Regions from separate parts of the Homo sapiens genome. Here region 2 is linked to region 1. Evidence: promoter capture Hi-C in human tissues and cell types (Jung and others, 2019). All regions are on one chromosome and are shown on one strand. Each heading gives the region's core, a stretch centred on a gene start or on the middle of the fragment in contact. The rest is flanking DNA. Distances are from core to core; before and after follow the strand shown.

The links. The method cuts DNA at HindIII sites, captures the fragments that hold promoters and counts their contacts. A contact is called where the count stands out against the background at its distance.
Region 2: the fragment with the promoter of UBAP2 here is called in contact with a fragment that was not itself captured in region 1 in 1 of the 25 tissues and cell types used here (dorsolateral prefrontal cortex).

The regions. Positions count from the first base shown.
Region 1 is chr9:34,332,921-34,338,673 of GRCh38, reverse strand. NUDT2 (nudix hydrolase 2) reads right to left here. Exons shown (of 5, transcript NM_001161.5): 2 at 2,333-2,445. It also overlaps a transcript of KIF24 not described here. Among named protein-coding and RNA genes, the nearest start is that of NUDT2, 6.2 kb to the right of the region's middle. The HindIII fragment of the contact is 3,442 bases long and covers 1,841-5,282 here.
Region 2 is chr9:34,045,399-34,051,151 of GRCh38, reverse strand. UBAP2 (ubiquitin associated protein 2) reads left to right here and starts at 2,265. Exons shown (of 29, transcript NM_001370062.2): 1 at 2,265-2,327. It also overlaps the pseudogene RN7SKP114. RefSeq lists enhancers at 1-585, 586-1,442, 1,633-2,162, 1,443-2,298, 2,299-3,155 and silencers at 2,193-2,282, 2,433-2,482. The HindIII fragment of the contact is 41,306 bases long and covers 1-5,753 here.

The DNA of each region.
Region 1 (5,753 bases), core at 2,312-4,811:
ACAAGTTTTATCGTCAAACCTGTAACCCCATTTCCCCCAGCCCATATCCTGAGCCCCTGAAGCACAGAACCCCCCAGCAGTGTGGTTTCTGACAATGCAGAGAGGTCATCTACAGAGAGTAACTTCATATAGAAAAAAATATTTCGTTGAGTTTTTTTTTTTTTTTGAGACAGGGTCTAGCACTGTTGACCAGGCTGGAGTGCAATGGTGTGATCATGGCTCACTGCAGCCTTGACCTCCCAGGCTCAAGCAAACCTCCCACCTCAACCTCTCAAGTAGCTGGGACTACAGGCATGCCACCACCATGCCTGGCCAATTTTTTTTTTTTTTTTTTTTTTTTTTTTTTAGAGACAGGGTCTCACTATATTGCCCAGGCTGATCCTGAACTTCTGGGCTGAAGTGATCCACCTACCTCAGCCTCCCAATGTGTTGGGATTATAGACATGAGCCACCATGCCCAGTCTGATTTTTTTTAGTCTTTTATTTTATCCTTTTTTTTTTTTTTTTTTTTTTTTTTAAGAAACAGGGACTTACTATGTTGCCTAGACTGGCCTCAAACTCCCAAACAGAAGTGGTCCTCTCCCTGGGTGGATCACGAGGTCAAGAGATTGAGACCATCCTGGCCAACATGGTGAAACCCTGTCTCTACTAAAAATACAAAAATTAGCCGGGTGTGGTGGCACACACCTGTAATCCCAGCTACTCGGGAGGCTGAGGCAGGAGAATTGCTTGAACCCGGGAGGCGGAGGTTACGGTTGTGGTGAGCCGAGATCGGGCCACTGCACTCCAGCTTGGCGACAGAGTGAGACTCTGTCTCAAAAAAAGAAGTGGTCCTCCCCCCTTAGCCTCCTGAGCAGCTGGCAATACAGGCACATGCCACCATTGCCTGACATTGCTGGTGCCCGGGGGTTGCACAGCTGATGCAGAGAGGGCAGCTGGAGCAGGAGCTGCTATCCTCCACAGTCCCTTTGCTGGTGCTCAATCAAGATGAATTTGCAGCTATCAAAGGCATAAAAATCAGGCCCAAACAGAAACCTACTCCAGGGCAATTCTCAAGACTGCCAACAGATGGTAATGTTACTCTAGAGAATAGCGGTTTCTCACCAAAAACCAAACACCCAACACCAAGACCTTTCCAAGCTTTTCTAAACCTGTAACAAAAGTTTTTAAGGACTGGAAATAATCTCAAAGGGGATTTCTGAAATGGTCTGTGCTCTCATATACTGTTGGTAGAAAAGTAAATTAGCATATCCCCTTAGGAGGGCCATTTGATAATAATTATCAAAACATAAAATGCACATTCCCTAAGAGCCAGCAATTCCATTTCTAGCCACTCTCACATAAGAAATATAGGTTTAAGATGTACACACAACGGGCCGGGCACAGTGGCTCATGCCTGTAATCCCAGCACTTTGGGAGGCCAAGGCGGGTAGATCACCTGAGGTCAGGAGTTCAAGACCAGCCTGACTAACATGGAGAAACCCCGTCTCTACTAAAAATACAAAAATTATCCAGGCGTGATGGCACACGCCTGTAATCCCAGCTACTTGGGAGGCTGAGGCAGAAGAATCACTTGAACCCGGGAGGTGGAGGTTGTGGTGAGCCGAGACGGGGCCACTGAATTCCAGCCTGGGCAACAAGAGCGAAACTCTGTCTCAAAAAAAAAAAAAAAAAAAAGATGTACATATAACAATGTTCACTACAACTTTGTTTGCAATATCAAAAAGGAAAAGAGCCAGAAACAAATATCCATCAATATGGGAATAGGCAAAAAGTACAGTATATCTATATGATGAAATAGCATGAAGTCATTAAAAAAAATGAGGTCGAGGCTGGGTTCAGTGGCTCGAGCCTTTAATCCCAGCATTCTGGGAGGCTGAGGCAGGAGGATTGCCTGAGCCCAGGAGTTTGAGACCAGTCCGGACAACACAGTGAGACCTTGTCTCTCAAAAAATAGAAAAAAAATTAGCCAGGTATGGTGGCATGCACCTGTACTTCCAGCTACTTGGGAGGCCAACGTGGGAAGATTGCTTGAGCCTGGAAGGTTGAGGCTACAGTGAGCCATGTTTGCACCAATGCACTCCAGCCTGGGCAATACAGTGAGACCTTGTCTCAAAAACAAAAGAAAAAGAAAAAAAAATTAGGTCAAGCCTAATGTACTGCTTGTAAGAAAAATTTTTAGACACATGAAAAGGAGACAGTTCTGAATAGCATGTATAATGAAATCCCTGTTTGAGTTTACAAATTCATATATAAAGTGGTAGGCTTTCATTTTTCTATTCTATTTCATTGTTCTATTTTCCTGGACTCCCTATTTATGTCAAGAACTTACCCCATTCCAGAAGCCAAAAGGAAGCACCCCATCACTGTAGAACTGGTGAACAAAGATCTCATATTATTGGTCCGTGGTTGAGGCAGAAACAGGTAGCTGATCCCATGCCCTCCCTATAAAGATGCTCAAAAAGCATTAGAAAGTTATAGATGTGGGGTACCTTGCTCCTGCCTCAGGTCCCATGGAATGTTAGAACCCCTAAATAAGCTTAGGGATCCAAGACTAGAGGGTCCCATGGAATGAATGTTAGAACCCCTAAATAAGCTTAGGGATCCAAGACTAGAAGGTCCCATGGAATCAATGTTAGAACCCCTAAATAAGCTTAGGGATCCAAGACTAGAGGGCACAGTGCCCTGCCTAAGACAGGAACTCCATACCACTGCCACCATCAACACAACATGGACAAGCAAAGATGCCTGCATGGGGAGCCAAGAAAGACAAGCCTGGGTTAGCCACATGGAACCACTGGGGAGAGGAAAGCAGCGGTGGGGTGGGGGAGGAATCTTAGGGTAGTGACAAGGGTGTACCCTAGCAAGAATGTATTTCAGTGGATGCCAGTGTATTAGGGATGACCACATCTAAGAACCACATCAGCTAACAGTTAATCTCAATGGCGCCAGAAGAGCTAGGATCAGATGCTCATTCTCCATCTATATTCTGGACCCATGGAAAGAACAGTTCTTCTAGAAATACAGAACTCCTCACTGCTCTTTCAATTGCTTGGCTTGAGCCAGCTATTCTCTAGAATTCCTCCTACCCACTCTATACACACAACCTCCTACTCGTCAGAAGCAGCTCAGATGTCACCTCCTCTGTGAAGCTTTCTGGCTTCTAATCACTTCCATGCTCTGCATCCTTAACACGGCTTGAACAAATTTAAAGTTCAATCAGGGAAGCAAACGCTATGAGTGACAGAAAACTAAAGATTTATTATAAGGAGTAGACACTGTGTATCTTTGGAAGTTGGTGGATAAATCCATGCAACTCTGCTGCCTCTGCACCTGGTGTTGGGCCCGAAGTCTGTGAGGCCAGCAGTTGGGAAGAAAACTGGATGTGAGGTGGAAGAGAACAAAGACAAACTGGAACCTCTGAGAACAAACTGGGATCTACAAGGACAACTGGAACTCATGAGGACAAACTGAAACCCACAACTTCCTTTCACTGGTCCCAAGCTCAGTGACTCAGGTGATCTGGAGAAGCCGGAGCCCTCTGCTACAGAGCTGACTGCACACATGGCCCAGGACTCAGAGGAGCTGAAGGAGGAAATTCAGTAGGAGCTAGGGGTGCTGGGGGCTGTGTGATGACCTTCACCAACAAGGTGAGCCAGATCAGAGAGAAAGTACAGGTACTGCCACTATGCCTGGTACCCTGCTCTGTCCTTCACAGCGTACAGACCCTGCTCTGTCCTTCACAGTGTACTGGCTGCTACTTCAATTCAGCTTTCCAAATCTCTCACGAAATTTTCTTGTGGACAACCCTCACCTGGAAGCAGATAGGAAGGATACTGGGAATCCAGCTTAGCTAAACTGACACAGTACAATGCCACCACAAGCACATATACCTAGTATAGTAAATCTCTGCTGGTACCTCTGGCAGGGAAGAGACAGATTATAAGCTCTGTTTTCTTGGGACCCAGCACAGCAGTTCTGAACAGATGTTCATTGACTCAAAAGAACTCTCTCCCCACCTCCCACTCAAACAAATGTTTGAGTATGTTCTGGGGCCCTGGGAAATAGCCCAGTGTTTTCCTGAAGAGTGCCATTTACATAAAAGTGAATGGAACTATTGTTGGGGGTTTTCTGTTTTTCTGGAGACCACAAAGCTGAAACTGTTCATGGGTTTGAAAGTAGCCAGCTTTCACACACAGACTCCAAGTGGATTCAAACCTCAGGGGGTTAAGGAACACAGCATCCAATATGCAAATATGCCTGCAGCCAGGATTGCGGAGGTGAGAACTCCAGGCTGACAGCAGGCAATTCACACTTCAAAAAAGTGGCAGAGTGCCTGAGGTGGTTAGAAAAAACCTGAACAAAAAAACCTTCAATGTCATTAGAAGGTTCTAGAAGCTAAGGAAAAATATTCTCGGCTTTCTCCATAAATACAATTCCCTCAGAGCCTAGGAGGTTCGGGACCTAGGTACCAAAAAAAGAATTTACAAATACATGGCTATGCTGTTTGTTTCAATATTTTCATCAAATTAATCAGAGTAACTGTAAAAAGCCCTCAGAAATGTAACTTTAGGTACAGGAAGAGCTCTCCAAATTTTCCCTCTGACCTGTTCTCCATATTCTAATATCCCTTTAGCAGAAACAGTGTTTCATGCCGCGTTGTCAATTAAGCATCTATATATACTGTGCCAGCTATACTGTGCAAGACTTTTGACAACTATTGTTTCTAAAGCTCAAAACAACCTTTCAAGAGAAGCATTATTATATCTAATTTACAAGGACACTGATATTATTTCAAAAGGTTAAAATACTTGCATAAGGGCATAGCTGGCCTGTAAAGGATGGGATTTCAATCCAAGTAAGTCTAACTCCAAAGTCTATAATTTTTGTCCCTTTCATAGCTCTGTTCACCATGAAAGAGTAGGGCTTAGGACACAAATGGCCCTGAGAGAGGACAGACAAGATTTATAAAATCATTTCCAGTTTCAAAATTCCCAGTCCTTTTTTTTTTTTTTTTTTTTTTTTTTTTGACAATGTCTCTCTGTGTCATCCAGACTGGAGGGCAATGGTATGATCACAGCTCACTGCAGCCTCAAGAGCTCACTGCATCCCTTCTGGGCTCAAGGAATTTTCCTGTCTTAGCCTCCTGGGTAGCTAGGACTACAAGCAGGAGCCATCACATCTGGCTAAATTTAAAAAACACTTTTTTTGTAGAGATGGGGTCTTGCTATGCTGACCAAGCTAGTCTTGAACTCCTGGCCTTAAGTGACCTTCCCACTTTGGCCTCCCAAAGTGCTGGGATTACAGGTGCAATCTACTGTGCCTGGCCCCAAATTCCCAGTCTTTAATCTATATTCCTTTGGAGGTTAAGATGTCTAGCTGGGATCATTTCCACCAAAAAGGTTTTAGTTGGGGGGAGAGGGCCGTAGATGTTAAATCCTGGTATCCGAAGAAGACTCTGAAGGAGGGGTAAAATGTAGCCTCAGGCTCCTAATAGCACCCATCTCAAAAGGGTTTCTATGCCTCCTCTGCTCTTTTCTGGGAAGTAGGAACCTAAAACCACATGTTCCACTTAACTTAGGGCACTAGTGTCCAGAAAATTTGCCCAGACCCTCCTCCAGATGAGGAGGAAAGCCAACTGTTTGCCTGCCCACAAGCAATTCTATGTGACTGCAATTCTATGTGACTACTCCCTCACCTCCCACATCATCATCATCTTTTTTCCAATTTGCCAGTTTCTTTCTTCCCTTTTG
Region 2 (5,753 bases), core at 1,016-3,515, 290 kb after region 1:
GAGACAGAGTCTTGCTCTGTCGAACAGCCTGGAGTGCAGTGGTGCTATCTTGGCTCACTGCAACCTCCACCTCCTGTGTTCAAGTGATTCTCCTACCTCAGCCTCCTGAGTAGCTGGGATTACAGGCGTGTGCCACCACGCCAGGCTATTTTTTTTTTTTTTTTTTGAGACGGAGTCTTGCTCTGTCGCTCAGGCTGGAGTGCAGTGGCGCGATCTCGACCCACTGCAAACTCCGCACGCCATTCTCCTGCCTCAGCCTCCCGAGTAGCTGGGACTACAGGCGCCCGCCACCACGCCCGGCTAATTTTTTTGTATTTTTAGTAGAGACTGGGTTTCACCGTGTTAGCCAGGATGGTCTCGATCTCCTGACCTCGTGATCGGCCCGCCTTGGCCTCCCAAAGTGTTGGGATTACAGGCGTGAGCCACCGCGCCCGGACATTTTTTTGTATTTTTAACAGAGACGGGGTTTCACCGTGTTGGTCAGGCTGGTCTCAAACTCCGTATCTTGTGATCCGCCCTCCTCCGGCTCCCAAAGTGCTGAGATTACAGGTGTGAGCCACCACGCCCGGCAGCATTCTTTAATTCAGATGAATAACAAAGGCTTTATTTGAACTAGATAGGGCTGTTTAAGATGTCAATTGTTTTACTTAATAACTAGCAAATTAGTAATTAGCATAGTGCCCTGTACAAAGTTCAGTATAAGCTAATTTCCCCTTTCTACCTTACTTAGACCTTTTGGGCCCGATGGGTAGAGTGTGAAAATGATTACTGATACTTACTGAGGGTTTATTATGTGTCAAGCAGGCATTTTACATAATCTCATTTAATTTTCACAAGCCGGTGAAGTGTTATTACAGAGGAAAGCTCCAATTGAGATAAGGCATGCCGGGACTGCAAAGTCCTTGTATGTAACTAGCTTGGGATAAAACAGGCCAGTAAGTAGACCTTGAGAGCTTGTTTAGAGGACCTTGAGAGCTTGTTAACACGGGCGTGCAGCTACTCCTATATCCTTGACTTGTCCTCTTCTATGGGGGATGCTCCTCCTTTTCGACCGAATATGCAGCTTCGGGAGGGACGCACATGGAGAGGTGCGGGAGGAAGGGGCCACCCGCCTAGACAGCCAGATCAGCCGAATCAGCCCTGGCGATCTATGGGGTGACAAGATAGCCAGAACGCCCTCACATCCAAACAGGCCAGTAAATGGAAAATACTTTAAAACACCATGCTACAATTATAAACCATCATCTTATTTATTCGTAATTCTTGGAGTTGACAACAGGTCAGATCCTATTGAGAGGAGGTCATTAATTTTCTAAAGACAGAAAACCTGGGTCTCTTCGGTCAACAAACAACTCTAAGGTTCTTTTTTTAAATCCTTAAATAGGGAAAATCCTGGACTCAAGGAGTTGATTATATGATATAACAGAAATAAACGGCTGACTTGGAGTAGGCGTTCAGTAGATTCTAGTCTTTTCACCCAGAAGGGGCTTGGGAGGGCAAAAGTAAAACCGCACTGAAAAAGACTAAAAGTGGGCGCACCTTCCGCCTTGCCGAGGCTCTCGCTGCTAGCCGTTGGCGTTTTCCCGCGCAGGGGGCAGGGCGCAGAGCGAGCCCAGGAACGTGGGAGCGGAACCCCACCCCCCGCCAGGACTACACCTCCCAGCAGGCACCACGCTCCGCCACATGGCGGGCGGCATCCAATGGTATTAGTCCTTCAAGCCAGCTTAGTCCGCTTTCCGTCCCGGCCTTCCCTCGGCTCTAAGGTCTCTAGGGGGTTCGTCTAGAAGCCCGCTGGAGAAAGGCTGCGGTAGGGGTCGCCTTGGCTGTGCAGCATGTTGGGAGTCGTGGTCCCCTCGTGCAACATTTGGGAGGCCAGGCTTGCCCTGAGTGGTTGGACCACATCACGTGATGAGCACAGGGCGGCCACAGGGGAGTAACCTGTGGTGCTTTGTGAGGTCATCACGGCGCGACGACGAGCTGCAGTTGTGGGCACCTTGTATGCGGTGGGTAATACTCTCCTGATGACTCCGAGTACAATACATATTATCAAGTCTCCCTTATTTGTTCCTTTCTGTGGTCCCCACCTCCACGCGGTTGGCTTCGCGGGGTTGGGGTGGAGGTGGTGGCTGGAAGAGGCCGCGCGCCGCCTAGGCTGACTCTGAAGCCGCGCACGAGCGACGTGTTGTGGCTCCTCCTTCGCCCGTGACGCGAGGTCACGTGACGGGTTGGGCAGCCTGTGCCGCCGCCGCCGCTTTGTAAGAGGCACATTGGCAGGTAACGAGCGGCGGCGGCGGCAGCGGGTCTTGGGTCCTCCGAGAGCAGCAGCGGTAATTGCCATCCTCTCCCTCTCCTTCCCTCTTCCAGGGCCCTGAGCGCTGCAGCGTGTGCTTTCTAATTCTGGGTTCAGCTCGTCTGAAACCCCACCGCCTGCAGACTGCCCCGGCGCCCACCCGTGAGGACCGGGCCGAGCTTCACTCGCCAGGTCCACGGTCCCTCTACGTCCAGGCCCGGGCTCCCTCCTTCCTCTTCCCCTCACGTTGCCCTGTGCTTCTTCCTACTTTCCCCCGTCCAGGTCGGCTGGGCCCCACCCAGCCCCAGGGGTGCCTCCCCTCCCCCCTTTCGGGTTTCTGCCCTGGAGGGTGTGGTTTTCTCTCCCACCTCGGTGCCTGCCAGTAGACTGGAGCTTCCCCGCCACGCTGTCGGTCCCATCTCATCACCTTTCCGCTTTCACGCCCGTAGCTAGTCTTGGGACTGGCCCTGTTATAGCCCCAACTTATGCGCTCTCTAACCTTTCCTGGCTTACCCGGAGTCACAGTTCAGTTCTACTTCTTTTCAATTCTGTAGGGCATTGGTCTCAATTGGGACTCAGTTTTCCTCCACACCCGCCGTTCCTGTAGTCTGGTTATATCACAGTTCATTATTTAATGTAGGTTTTTGAGCGCTTTGTAAACGGCAAAGCTCTCTCTGTTAATAATACATACTCAAAATGTTATTCTTTCATTGGTGCATTACAACTCAGTTGTTTGCCTCTGAATCACTTTCCCACTCGGCTTTTCCACATTTTCCCCTGAGTTTTTAGTCTAATTAGTTGCCCACGCATCTCAACTGTCACCACTCTGGTCTCTAATGCTTGCTCGCTTTAGGGGTTGATCCCATCATTATTACTGTTATTTCCTGTTTGATGTAATCCAGTCATTTACTACCACTTCTATTGGATATTGTTTTTACCTCACATTCAAGGAAGGTATATGGTTTGCCAGTATTTAGGCTTATTGTCTTTCTACAGCACCAGTGTATCCTAACAGTTGAGAGATTTTAAAAAATTACTATTAATTTTAGAGATATGGTCTCCATATGTTGCCCAGGCTGGCCTCCAGCTCCTGGGTTTAAGCGATTCTTTCACCTCAGCCTCCTGAGTATCTGGGATTACAGTGTGCACCACGGTGCTCAGCTAGTTGAGGGTTTTTTCAGGTCTCCATAAGGTATCCAAAGATTATCTTTTATTTGAAGGGCATATAATTTCTTGGGTGAACCCAGTTCTTATATTCCTCTTCCGTTGTGACAGCACTTTTTTCAACAAGGGGTATGCGACTAGTTATTGCATTCCTCACTTTTCACTGTGAATTGTGTATCCGTTTTAGTGCCAGTTTGTGAAAGGTGGAAGGAAGTTGAACATGATACCTAAGCTCTCCCGTATCCTACATTGGTGTGTTCCCCTTTTACCTCAGGAAAGGGAATGTATTCCACTCCCTGGAGATGATAGTTTCCTTCAATACACTCACCTGTGGAGCCCCTTCGCTAGGGTTGTCCTTCCATTGCTTTGAAGGCTTCTCTTATCATTAGGCAGAAGTGATTAGTTTCCCAAACTGCCCTTTTGCTTGCTGCCAGCATACTCCTGATTTTCCTACTTATGGCTAGTTGATACGTGTGACGAGAGATTTTCCCACAGCGCTGATTTCCCCCATTTGCTTCCCTGTTGCCTCTCACCCTCAATAATTATGAAACCTTTCAGAGAAGGAAGGTTTTTGTTGTGATTGAAATATGCCCGAAAGTGGTGGCATGGGAGAGAATGAGGCCATGGGAAAGGGTTGTGGTAATTGCCTCTCTTGCCTGTTTCCTGCTGCTCTGGTTTCCTCTGTCCTCCCTTTAAATGTGGGCTGGATCAGCAGTAGTCACATGGAGTTGCCTTTAGAACTATATTGGAACAACAATAACACCTCTGCTTCCCTTTCCTGGTTACTAGTGCAGTCTATGTAGTGATCACCAGGAGTGTCTCTCTTAGTATTAGCCTGAGTGACTTTTATTGTATGGGGAGAAATGGTGTGATGGTGTGAGAACATGTAGACTAATAGGTTTATTTCAATATGTACTTGTATTGTGATGGGAACTGGTCCCGGTATCTACCCTCTTAAGTATAAAATATGTGTAGAAAGTACAAACCTTTCTTGAAGGTTTGGAGTGGTCTGAAGTGAAGCCTTCTTTTTTTTTTTTTTTTTTTTTTTTTTTTTGAGATGGAGTCTTGTTCTGTCGCCCAGGCTGGAGTGCAGTGGCCTGATCTCGGCTCACTGCAAGCTCCGCCTCCCGGGTTCACGCCATTCTCCTGGCTCAGCCTCCCGAGTAGCTGGCACTACAGGCACCCACCACCACGCCCGGCTAATTTTTTGTATTTTTCAGTAGAGATGGGGTTTCACTGTGTTAGCCGGGATGGTCTTGATCTCCTGACCCCGTGATCCGCCTGCCTCCCAAAGTGCTGGGATTGCAGGCGTGAGCCACCCCGCCCGGCATGAAGCCTTTACTTCTAAAATGTTAGCTTTGAATTGTTGATTTCCCAGTCCTCTTTTTTTTTTTTTTAAATGATGATTTATTGTTAAGATTTCCTTTGTTAATAAGACACTTTGTGGGGTTGGGGGGTGGGGGTGGTTAAGTATATTAGCAAGGGTTAATGCCTGCTCTAAAGAAGCAGTCTGCAGGCATTTACAGATTGTAAAGTTCTCTGCCCTTAAGCACATCTGTCTTTATTTTTCCTTGTGAGAAACCTGTATGTCAGCAAATACCCGTTCATTCTTAGTTGTTATTTTGAGTAAATGGAGCTCTTAGTTGTTATTTTGAGTAAATGGAGCGTTCTTAAAAGCTAAGTGTTATGGTACCCATGGTGTTGACTGGTAAGTTAGTAGATCTCTGATAGATTTTAGAAGCAGCCGTTTTTTCCAAAGAGTGGAGATACAACCTGAAGGAAGGCAAAGAGAGGGAGGACATGTAGGGAATATCACCATGTAATCTTTGTGGTAGATTTTGAAGTAATTTTGCCCCAACTATCAAGTATTTAGGAATAGGATCCTTTTTTTACTAACTCAAAGAATCAAATTTATCAGATTAGTTTTTACAATTTTAATGTAAACCACTTATGCTGATATTTCCTGCTGAGTTTACTTGACATTTTTTAAGTTTCTCAAAGATGCTCCTTAAAAATTTTCTTTTGTGACTGGGCACTGTGGCTCATGTCTGTAATCCCAGCACTTTGGGAGGCGGAGGCGGGCGGGTCACGAGGTCGGGAGTTCGAGACTAACCTAACCAACATGGTGAAACCCCGTCTCTACTAAAAATACAAAAATGAGCCTGGTGTGGTGGCGCGTGCCTGTAGTCCCAGCTGCTCCAGAGGCTGAGGCGGTAGAATTGCTTGAACCTGGGAGGTGGAGGTTGCTGTGAGCCATGTGCCATTGGACTTCATCCAGCCTGGATGGAGCAAGACTCCG